Regions from separate parts of the Homo sapiens genome. Here region 2 is linked to region 1. The links are contacts of gene promoters, found by promoter capture Hi-C in human tissues and cell types (Jung and others, 2019). All regions are on one chromosome and are shown on one strand. The core of a region is centred on a gene start or on the middle of the fragment in contact, and the rest is flanking DNA. Distances in the headings are between cores, read along the strand shown.

Region 1 (5,946 bases), core at 3,027-5,526:
TCATCTGTACAACAGACTAGGTTATTCTAGGATCCCTTACAGCTCTCGCCTTCTGAGTTCAGCAGGGCTGATAGCTTCCAGGCAGCAGGTTAAGCAAGCTTAAAGAGTTCAAAGTTAATGGAGTTAGAGGTAGTACGATGTTTCTCCTTTGAGAAGTGAATGGGTTGGACGTGATGCCTTTCCAACAGGTCCTCTGGCTCTAATGTTCTATGCAAAGGTTTGTATTTCTGCCCACATCTTCCTTTAGCCTGCTGGGACAGTCTCTGTGTGTATGGGTCCTCAATGCAAGCTGCAGGTTTGAAGAAACAAAGCACCCCTTCTAAAGAGGAGAGCAGCTGGGCAAATGGCCATTGCATATTTAGTTTCTCTGGAGCACTTTATTTTGAGAGAGACCAAAGTGTGCCTTTAACTTCTATGTCAACATGGGCAGCCTGCCCAAATTAAGCAAGGAGGAAATGCTACTTGAAAGGCTTTAGAGACCAAAGAATTAGGCAGTGGAGGCCGACCCCAATCCTTCTCTTTAGCCCTGTCCCAGTCAGGAACCTCAATACATTGGGCCAAATATTTTAAGAGCTAGATCTTAAATATAAATCTCTGGAGGGGGTTGTAGTGAAAACTAATCTTGACTAAGAGTCAGACATTGGCTGTCTTATTGTCTGTTGACCTTGCCTCAGTTTTCTCATCTGTAAAATGGGAAGGTTGGTCTTATATCTTTGCGGAAGATTGGTTTTTTTGTTTTTATTTTTGTTTTTTGAGATGGAGTTTCACTCTTGTTTCTCAGGCTGGAGTGCAGTGGTGTGATCTTGGCTCACTGCAACCTCCGCCTCCCAGATTCAAGCAATTCTTCTGCTGCAGCCTCCCAAGTAGCTGGGACTACAGGCATGTGCCACCACATCTGGCTAATTTTTGTATTTTTTTAGTGGAGACGAGATTTCACCATGTTAGCTAGGCTGGTCTCAAACTCCTGACCTCAGATGATCTGCCTGCCTCGGTCTCCCAAAGTGCTGGGATTACAGGTGTGAACTACCACGCCTGGCCAGAAGGTTGGTATTATAGCTTATATCTTATACCTTTCAGCTCTTCTATCCAGTCTATGAATCTGACTTTCTGTGACACTTAGTTTTTAAAGAGGTTTAAAGCTAAACCAAAGTTCATGTTTCAACTTGAATTTAAGAATGGGGCTCTGCACAGAGCTTGGGGAAGACTGAATCCCGAGGAAGCATCCCACCATCTCCTAGAAAGGAAAGGCCACAGGGAAGTAATGGGAACCTGGAGACCACTTACAGTGTAGAAGTTGAGAGACAGTTGGCTCTCAAATGTGCCCATGCTCCCGTTCTTCACGTGAACAGTGGCCACTCTGAAAAGGGGAGAGAATTTTGCATAAGGACTGAAACACGCTGATTGATAGGACCTGCAGTACACACATGAGGCAGCCAGCCCTCCATGCCGCACAGCAACTTACCTCTGGTCAAAGGCAGCCTGGTTCACCAAGTAGGTGGAGTGGTAGGTGCAGGAGAAGGAGTAGTTGACAGGCTGGTTTTTTACAATCACTGTGGTGTCATTGGAAACGATGTGACTGTAGAAGTGATAGATAGGTGGCTTGTACTGGACAAAGAAAGGAGACAGTCAGGATGAATCTGTTTCCCCGCGATGGGAATGAGGGTTCTGGGAAAAGTGCAAGAAGATGGCTCAAAAACAAGTCCAGTGGGGAGACAGAAATGTCTGCCACTGACGGTGGCATCCACTCTTCTTGTCTGCGGGTGAGCTGATAATTTTGTAAAGGGTTCCTTAGTTTATTCAACTAAGAGTGTTTAAAAATGATCTAGGTTGATGTCGTATGCTTAAAAATCTCCATGTACCCATTGGGCTTCTGACCAAAAAGAACTGGCTCAAGAATCTCTGTTTCCCAAAGTCAACTCTTCATCCATTTCTCCTGTCCAAATATTCTAAATGAATGCTTCACCCATCTCCAATTTCTAGAGTGTTCCCTTCTGGTTCTTTGCTCTTTCCTTCTTCTGACTATAAGCACGATTTCTGAGACTCTTTCGCCTGACTTGTTGGGCTCTAAAATCACAGAATATTAGAGCTGGAGGGGATCTTGAACATCCACTTGAAAAGTGACTGACCTGAGACCACACAGCTGATTTCTAGTTCACCAGGATATACTCAAAGACATGATGTCTTGTTAATCATGCTCATGACTCTTCCCATTAAATCACTGAATCCTTGTGAGGCCTTTAGAAAGAGGAGCTGGCCCTGGAAGCTCTTTGCTCTCATGCTCTGAGATGGATAGATGCACAGCCTTCTGGCAGGTAGGGCAGTAGGAATGCTAGATCTTGGTGGGGAGGTTGGGAGACCTAGCCTCCCTTCCTGATTCCATCCCTACAGGCTCTGTGGCCCTGAATGAGTGACTTTATTGGGAAGTCTCAGACTTCTCGTCTGTCATATGATACTTGGTAAGAGGGCGTCTGTTTCCTAATAATTATCTTATGATATCCCATCCTGGGCACTTCACAAGACTGCGTTAGAAGTTGTATTATACATTGGTCACTCCCTAAACTGCTCTTCCAAATGCTCTTTGTCACCACTTTGAAGTCTCAGGCAGAGAATGGCTCATCCATCCACCCATCCAATCTAGGAAGGATGGCGGCTTGTGAGCACAGGCTCAGAACTTGAAGGTGGGAAATGTACTTTGTTCTACTAGAAGGTAGCTTCACTGGCTTTGGCAACAAATTAGGAGGATAAGAGTCAAGCCAAAAGAGTTATCTAAACTAGGCAGAAGAGAATATTTTAAATAACACCAACATTCCAGGATATTTGGGAATCAGGACTGACCTTTAAAAGGAAATGGGTAAATTCTGAATCCTTTCAAGGACAGATGGCAGACATCTCATTCTTGGGTCCAGTTGCCTTACCTTAAACAACTCTGCACTGTGTGGCCTGGTCTTACCTCAGACTGGGTTCCACAATAGGACTTGTTTTTAGGTGATAAATCTGGGATCACAAATTGGTAGTAACCTCCTTCGTGGACCCCATTGTAACACAGCCCTCCGAGGGCCAGCTGATGAACTTCCCATCCATAGGGACACTCGGGGATTTTGGTGATGATGGTTTTGGGATAGCAAAACACAAGAATGACATCTGGAAAGAGCACACATATAGTTTAAAATCAGTTAGGGTAATCATGCTAACCTACGTAACGAACAGTGGATTCCAGCTACACCTGAGCATGCAAAAGCAGTTGGTTAAAAACACCTTCCCTGCTATTCCTCACCAGCTGTGACAAAAGTTTTCCCCAAACTTCAGTCATTGAAGAGTCACTCTCACAGTTTTTGCTGCATTTATTTAATGACTGCACCACGTTTAACATGGAATTAAAATTAGTCCATTTGGAACAAGGAATGTATCTGTGAAACCACAGGTAGGATGTATTAGACATACATAAATATATATTAAAATCTCCATAACAATGAGCACATAATTTAAACATTTTAAATGTCAATTTCATGCATAATATTGTGAAATACTGATTTAGGGCACAAGATAGAAATTCAGTAGTTGAATGGAAAAAAAAGTGGAGATGTTTTATATATATATATAATGGGATGTGGGGAGAGAGTGTGTAAGTAAGAGAGTGAAATAGAGCAAGCATTCTCTAATTAAAAAAAAAGTCCGAGTTTATCCAATACATCTTTGCTCCATTTGGGAAAAGTCTGATTGGTATTGGAGGGGGTGCTTAAGTACTTTCCTGCTTGGCTACATCATTACATTTTTATAACAAGTTAAGCACAGAAGTGCTGAGCATTGTAAAAGGAAACTTCAGGAAACTTTTCGTCCCAGGAAAATGGACTTGGCGAGGACATACCTGCTTTATTTGGAGCACACGATTTTGCAGAGGCTTCTGCAAAGATGGCCAACAAGACAAAGGCCTTCGTCACCATTGCTTCTCAGAACCTGGTCTCTGCCAGGTATCCAAACCAAGCTGGCCAAATGTTTACGGTCCTTCCAGGGCCTGAGCCTCGATCATTCTAAGTCAGAAACATGAATGAAAAGTTAAAATCAAGGGAAGAACAAAGCCGCACATACAGTCTTGGGGAAATTTTCAAGGGAGATAAACGATGTTGTGTCGTTTCTAATTGTTTCCTGTTAGCGCTGAGAGGCAAAAAGTGGGGCTCATACCGTTGGAAGCGTCAATGACACATGGAGTTGTTCATGTTCCCGACTGTTTCATCCTCTCCGGACTGTAGAGGCTGGCTGCTGGATGCTCCCCAAATCTGCTGCCCCAGTCCTAGTTTGACTTTATATAGCCCGAGGATGTAAAAGAAACCAGCTCCAGATAAGTCACAATGAGCATGCATTATCCACTGTGTGGGGAATAAAAAGGGGGGCTAGCACAGTAATCCGATGGGAAGCTCAGTTACTTGAATCTAATTTCTTTTGCTTTACAGAGTTGGAAAAACTTTTTTTTAACTGCTTCAACCAAGATTGGGAGGAAAAGTTGATTTTTTCCCCTTTTGTACAGAAAATAACTCTGAATGGAGGCAAACTATTTCTGTACAATTCCAGGTGACAGTTTTAATTCTTTTGTCTTGCTTTCTTTGCTTTATTTCCTGCTTTCTTATTTTTGTATGTAGGTAAACTAAACTTTGATAAGAAAACTCAGGTTTAACATTGTTGCACCTGATAACTATAAATATATGTGTGTGTGTGTGTGTGAACGTAAACATTTTAAAGGATTTTCCCTCTAATTAAAAAACAATAAATAAACTCTAGTGTCTTGAACTTCATCCTGAAGAACAACTTTTAATTGTACACCCTTGAGATTTCTAAAGCTTTATTAGTCTCCCAGAGCAATGACATTGGAAGAAGAAACTTAGAAAGTCTCTCTTATAATTCAATTCTTAGTCACCCGACAAGATCCCACTGAAAACAACAGATAACATGCTACTCCCATGAAGGTTCCAGATATATTATTGATAATGCACATCATTTAATGTTTCAAAACATTGGGAGGTATCTTATAAGCAACATGCATAAGTAATACAGTACAGTTTCCTTATTTCCTCAAAACCTATTGTTAAATTGATGGGATGTTTTATAATGATGGTATCAAAGAATGAAGGAAATAGCCATGTGGCAAGCCATTAAAAAGTTCTGTAACTCAGTTTCCTTCTGTGTAAAATGGTGGCTGTGATTCTGGGCTGAACTTACAGAGTAGGAGAGCAATGATGTAAAGGCTCTTGTAAACTGTAAGTAGTACATAAATAAGTAGATTACATGAAAAGACAACTGACAATTTCCAGTAGCATGTATGTGTCCCATGAGTTGCTTTTCCTTTCTTTACATGCAACACAAAGTGACTCATTGTAGATTTATGATTCACGTAACAGGAGGCATATCTGTATTGTATGACACGTATGCAAAATATTTTATGGATGATGAACAAATGAGCTGAGAGGGAGAAGAGAAAGAATATATTAAAAAAATTTTTTAAACAGTAGGATCAAGTTTATTGTGGCCTGGAAACATTGCCGTATTTCTTTTTTATTATTATTATACTTTAAGTTGTGGGGTACATGTGCAGAACGTGCAGGTTTGTTACATAGGTATACACGTGCCATGGTGGTTTGCTGCACCCATCAACCCATCATCTACATTAGGTGTTTCTCCTAATGCTATCCCTCCCCTAGCCCCCCACCCCCCAACAGGCCCTGGTGTGTGATGTTCCCCTCCCTGTGTCCATGTGTTCTCATTGTTCAACTCCCACTTATGAGTGAAAACATGCAGTGTTTGGTTTTCTGTTCTTGTGTTAGTTTGCTGAGAATGATGGTTTCCAGCGTCATCCATGTCCCTGCAAAGGACATGAACTCATCCTTTTTTATGGCTGCATAGTATTCCATGGTGTATATGTGTCACATTTTCTTTATCTGCTCTATCATTGATGGG
Region 2 (6,352 bases), core at 2,962-5,461, 89 kb after region 1:
GGCTGAAGAGTAGTCCGTTGTGTATATACACCATACTTTCTTTACCCACTCTTCCATCAACGGACACATAGGTTGCTTTAATATCTTGGCTATTGTGAATAATGCTGCAATGAACATGGGAGTACAAATCTCTCTTTAATACAGCAATTTCAATTCGTTTGGATATGCATCCAGAAGTGGGCTTGCTGAATCATATAGTAGCTCTATTTTAAATTTTTTGAGGAACCACCCCATACTGTTTTCCATAATAGCTGTACTGCAAACACTGATTCTTAATCTGGGGTCCATGGATGACCTTGGAGGGAGGTTATGAAACTGCTGAAATGGAATGTAATTTTTTACATGTACTTTTTTTCTGGGAAAGAGCCTGGAGTTTCATCAGATAATCGAACTGTTCCCAGATGCCAAAAAGTGAGGAACTACTGCTTTAAAGACTTTACTGACTCAATCAGTAGTATAGTTGTTAAAGGAAAACTATGCACGTTTATACCTGGAAACGAAAAACATGCTGAAGTTGAATCTGGAGAACGCTGTGATTCTGAAATACACCTTTTACCAGCTATGATCTGTGAAAGCAAGTGGGACTGATATCTGGATCCAATGGAACCTTCAGACTTTGAGGGGACTGGACATTTTCCTAGGAACTGCAAACATTACCTAGTACCCACTCTGTGCCAGGTGTTGTCTCAGTGCCTTACATATTTTAACTCTTAATCCTTTTAGTACTATAAAGTAGGTACTATTATTAGCTTTGTTTCATGGATAAGGAAAATGAGGCACAGAGAGATAAAAACCATAAATTGAGTTTACTTTAAACATTCCAAGACCCTTCACAATTGTGGACAGTGTAATTTTGTGATTTGTAATTAATGGTTCACAATAATTATGATTTTGACATGTGTAAATGGCAGCCATGTTGTAATCTTGAAGTACATCCCAATTAATAGTAGGATTCCTATACATGCCACCTCTGTTTTTGTGAATAAGAATGCCATGGAATACTATGCAGCCATAAAAAAGGATGAGTTCATGTCCTTTGTAGGGACATGGATGAAATTGGAAATCATCATTCTCAGTAAACTATCGCAAGAACAAAAAACCAAACACCGCATATTCTCACTCATAGGTGGGAATTGAACAATGAGATCACATGGACACAGGAAGGGGAATATCACACTCTGGGGACTGTTGTGGGGTGGGGGGAGGGTGGAGGGATAGCATTGGGAGATATACCTAATGCTAGATGATGAGTTAGTGGGTGCAGCGCACCAGCATGGCACATGTATACATATGTAACTAACCTGCACAATGTGCACATGTACCCTAAAACTTAAAGTATAATAAAAAAATAAATAAAAAATAAATCAGTATATGCACTACTGAAAAAAAAAAAAAAAAAGAATGCCTTACCAGGTCACATACAGAGGAGAGCAAGTTAACTGCTTTGCTTAATTAGAATTTGGCTAAGAGTCACTATGGCTTATAAAATAAGTTTACTAACCAAGTAAGCAATTTTATTTTTGTAACTATTAGCACAATCAAAAAAATTCAGACTGTTTACCTAAGGCATGCCACAACATTGTGGAGCTTAAAGTCAATGAAACTTTATCTCTGGGAGGTTAAAATTTCATTCATTTAGGATTTGATCAATTGATGGAGCTTTAGATATAATTCATTCTTTACCTAGATTATATTTATTCAACAGTTAATGAGCAGGTGACCTAGAAATTTAAATGAACTATTCTCTAAAAACATCACTTATAAATAAGCTAGAGAAAAACCAACATTATTGATCTTGATTTATTTAACCCATTGATTACCTATAGCAGTTACTAGGAATTCTACAATTTATGTATGTGTGCTTAATTTACATATGTTCCAATGCTTTATGGAGGTGAAGTAGGCCCAGAAGTGAGAGCCTCTGGAAAAATAACTATGATGTGATTGATAAAGGGGGAAGGTGTTTTGTTACCTTGTAAGCAGAATCAGATGTGCAAAAGGAATGGGGTGAGGGAAGTGTTGGTCTCTGTGATCCATCCAACCAGTAGTAAAACAAAATGGGGCTAGAAGAAGAAATTGCACCTTGTGATCCTGGATTATGAAAAGCCTATTCTCTAATATCTCACTTGCATTTTGGAGATCATCCTTGTAATAAACATCAAATATTGTATGGAGTAAGATGATGATGACTGCTAGTTAGAAAAGATGTGGTTAAAACCATAACCAATCCTGCTATGCTTACTTAGGTTTTGCTTTATATAAGGTAATTCAGATAATTGGAAACTAGGTTCATAACACTCTTTACTTTGGAGGCCTTTTCTTTTGGGAAATCTGTAAGTTAAAAGCCAAAGACAGTTACACAGAGTATGTTTAGAACACCCAAGAGAATAAATTTTCCAAAGGAAAATATTTGAGCTTTTATATGTCAAATTTCTTTAGAAGTGTTCTAAAAATTCTAAATTTCTTTAGAAGTATTCTAAAAATTAGCCTTAGTTGAACTTAGATTGATCTTCCTTCCGATTATACTTAATGAGTGAGGTTCTACCTTACTTTGAACTCATTAGAAAAAGAATAATCTAATTGCAAAGTAGTTCAGCTTCTCCTCTTCATGAAAATTCTTTCCTATTGACAAAGACTGATTCTGAGGGAGAAACAATAAAAATAAGTCTCTAGCCATGCCTAGTTTTTCCCTTTCAAGCCTTTTCAAATTCCTTCTTTCAAGAGTATTGGGCATGTGTGTGTTTCCTCCCAGGCTCTGCTTGGCCTTGTTCTAGATTGTGGCATTCTGTTCTGTGTAGACCACCCCCTACACTGGAGATCAGGGCCCCTAGTTTTCCTTGTAGTCACATGTTTTCTCTACTCTGACCCAGGGAGTGGGGTGAGGGAGAGAAGATGGGAACTCTGCTGTCTACCTTAGATGCATGCCTGCTCTAAGAGCTACAAAGTCACAAGCCCCCAAACTCTGTGGTTCCCACATCGCTCCTTGAATGTTTCTATTCCTAAGGCTATCCTTGTTCAGGACTCTTGATAGTTATAACAGCCATGCACCCTGTCCTTTCATAAGTAGCTAATCATGTCTTGTACTTAGACATTCAACAAATAGATATTGAGCATCTGCTTTAGCAAGGTACCGTCAGGTACTAGGAATGTAGGGGAAAAGTCAAGAATGCCATTTAAGAGAGAGAGAGGGGCAGATATTAAATGATTAATTCTACAATTAAGTATTTAGTTATAATTATGGTCATTCCCATGGGGAAGAAACTTAAGAAAGGGGCCTGCCTTAGTCTGAAGGGTCCACAAAAATTTTCATGAGGCGGTGAGACTTGAGCTGTGTTATGAAGTATGAGTCAGAGAAGAGATGTGGCAGGGACCACTGCAGGCAGAGCAAATGCCAGGGAAGGGCAGAGCCTGGCTTTCGTGGGGAAGTGAAAGAAAGCCAGGGTGGCTGGAGTCAGAGAGCGAAAGAGTACGTGGACGGAGATGGGGGGTGGTGAGATTAGCAAGGGCGGACTGAGCTAGGTATTTAACACATGTTACAGGCTTTAGTTTTTGTTCTAAAATCTGTAAGGAATATATGGAAGGATTTTAGTCAGTTGGGATGGTGACAAGGGAGAGCGATGGGGGTATTTGGCATGGTGCATTTTGGCATGATGCATTTTCAAATGTTTAGGCTGGCTGATGTGTATGGGGGTATTTGGCATGGTGCATTTGGCACGCTGCATTTTCAAATGCTCGGTCTGGCTGATGTGTATGGGATGTCTGGATGGGTAGCCAGTGCAGAAGTAGATGTGGGGCATCCAGGCAGTGAGTCATTATGCCCCCCAGTGAAGATGGTGATATTTTGGATTAGGATAGTGCAGGTGGAGAGGGAGATAAGGGGGTGATGGGTTTAAAGCTATTTAAAAGGTAAAATTGTTTAAGAGTTAATGTTCTATTGGATGCAGGAAAAAGTCAAGAACTTCCAGGTTCTTGGCCTGCTGAGGAGATGGTATGAAGTGAGAATGAAGGAAGGACTTGAGCCAGCAAAACATGCCAAGAGAAAACATCTAGGGGGGTAGAAAGAAATGCAGGAGAGCACAAGGTTGTGAAAGCGGAGAGACTGCCTGGCTCTTTACACCCAGAGCTGGGACTTGCTCAGCAAGCCATCCCTACCCAATAATCTGCCGTCAGGTTATACAACAGTAGAAAGCTTGGAATGAGTCTGGGTTTGTCCATGTTAAAATCTAGTCCACCTTAGGATCTCTTTTCCAGAAGACAAGACGCTTTATTTTCATATCATTCCAGCCAGTATCTCAGCTCCACAAACCATCTTGGACAGTATCTTTTAAGAACCAATGGTGATTTTTAGGGAAATGTTCTTAAGCAATACTTAGGAACAAAAGGTTTTCCTGAAAGACATAGTGTCCGCAGAGATGCAATTTTAAGCACAGCAAAGACAACCTTTTAAAATGTTATATAGTGTAGCCTGTCTTGTTAGAAGCACCTAAGTCTCTTCATTCTACATTACGACCTTTGGTTTATCTCAGTCCAACCAGAAGTGTCATAAATGTGGTTCGATTGTCATTAGAGCTGTTCACAAATGTTTAGTTATCCGGGACACATGGTAGGATTACACTTCTTTACCCAACAAAGCGGATTAAGAGCCAGTGTACAGCTTACTACACTCTCTTTTCCAGCCTTGGCAAACACGAAGGCATGTATCAACATGGAACCTTCCTCAGCCTGGGTCCCTCAGTGACCATTATGAGCAGAGTCCCAGGATAACCTGCTGTTGACATGTAGCATAGGCAAGAAACAAACTCTGTTGTTTCAAGACTAAGACGTTTGTTACTGTATTATAATCTAGCGCATTCTGACTGATATAGTCACTCTCCCTAGAACAAAGTAACTTTAAGGGTTCATATGAGTTTCAAAAATTTAGGACAAATTTTGTGAGGATCCAAGCTCAAAGGAATAGCATTTCCTCTTTTGTCCCAAAAGTATCTGCAAGAAGTATGTTTTTCAAGCATAAGATCTTCGCAGCCTAGCCCTGAGATGAGGACGACCAAAAAACTAGAGCCAGTTCCAAAGCAAATCCTAAAAACAATTATCATAATGTTTTCAGACCTGGGATCTGCTAGCGCAGCTCTAACTACCATGTTCTTGCCTAGGCTAGCTGAATAATATATCCCTTGTATGTTTGGGCTTTAGTATCAGGTAGACGCTGAATTCAAAGTGTGTTTCTGCCACTTTACAGATTCTGACCTCTCCTGGTGCCTCAGTTTCCCCATCTGAAAAATGGGAGTAATAATAGTTTCTAACCCATGGGGCTATTGAGAGGACGGGCCCATCATCTGCCTGTTTGCCCTTGGATCTATTCCCCATCCTTCCCTGCTCTACTCTAGATCTTAGGACAATGCCTCCTTGCAAACTTATTCCTCAGGCTTCCTTGAAGCTTGGGTCAGCCCCAGTTGGCAGAGAGAGGATAAAAGTCATGGTATCTCCCTGTTTCTCACGTGGCACCTCCAGTGGCAGTGGCTCCATGGTTTTGGCTCCTCCTGGTCAGGACCCCCTCCTTGGTCCCAGTTGTAGCCTATGAGGAGATGGCTCTTGGCTCTGTCAACACCTGTCTTTGCCACTCCAGCCTGAGGGAGGGTAGTGATCTCGTGTTGCTGCTGATCTCTGGGCCTCACCCTTCTACTTTTGTCTTCTCTGCTCTTCCAAGACCTTTCTAAGTAGTTTTCTGTATTAAAGTCTCACTAGCAAGCTGTCTGGAAGGGGTTCGTTTTTCTGATGGCGCCATGACTGACACAGGTGATTATTTGAGAAAATGCCTCTAAAGTACTTAGAATAGTGCTTGGCACATAGAAATTGCTCAATAAAGGGTAGCTAACAAAACCTACTTACTTTCTTCCTTACCTAGATTCTCTGCGGCCAATTTAACCCAGGCGGGCAGGCCCCTGCATACAACATAGCTCCTGAATCATTGCCCACTTCTTCTCTTCCTGGTTGACCAAGTCCATAGACATGGGCTTCTATTTTGATTCACCCTTCTCTAATCTTACAAGGTAAAGGGTATTCACATACCTCCATGACATTTATGACACATGTCAGAATTTTATTTTGAATTTTCCAAACTTTTTACTATGGCTTAAAAAGACCTGGTCGGCCTGTGTTCCCAATTCCTTCCTCTGCCATTTTCCCACTTACCCACTCCAGCCACACTGGCCTTGGTTCAGTTCTCACTCTCTGCCAAGTTCTGCCCTCCCTCTGGGCTTTGGCCTGTGCTCTTCCCTCTTCTTGGAGAGGTCTGCTCTGGGCTCCTGTCTTGGCCAGGCCCTGCTCACACCCTGGCCTCAGTGTAGCTGCTCTC

What was found. The method cuts DNA at HindIII sites, captures the fragments that hold promoters and counts their contacts. A contact is called where the count stands out against the background at its distance.
Region 2: a contact is called between a fragment that was not itself captured here and the fragment with the promoter of TECTB in region 1, in 2 of the 25 tissues and cell types used here (IMR-90 fibroblasts and adrenal gland).

The regions. Positions count from the first base shown.
Region 1 is chr10:112,281,730-112,287,675 of GRCh38, reverse strand. TECTB (tectorin beta) reads right to left here and starts at 4,276. Exons shown (of 11, transcript NM_058222.3): 1 at 4,180-4,276; 2 at 3,866-4,028; 3 at 2,951-3,141; 4 at 1,463-1,605; 5 at 1,285-1,357. The coding sequence starts at 3,941. The HindIII fragment of the contact is 8,284 bases long and covers 1-5,946 here.
Region 2 is chr10:112,192,490-112,198,841 of GRCh38, reverse strand. It overlaps a transcript of GPAM not described here. Among named protein-coding and RNA genes, the nearest start is that of GPAM, 12 kb to the right of the region's middle. The HindIII fragment of the contact is 6,486 bases long and covers 969-6,352 here.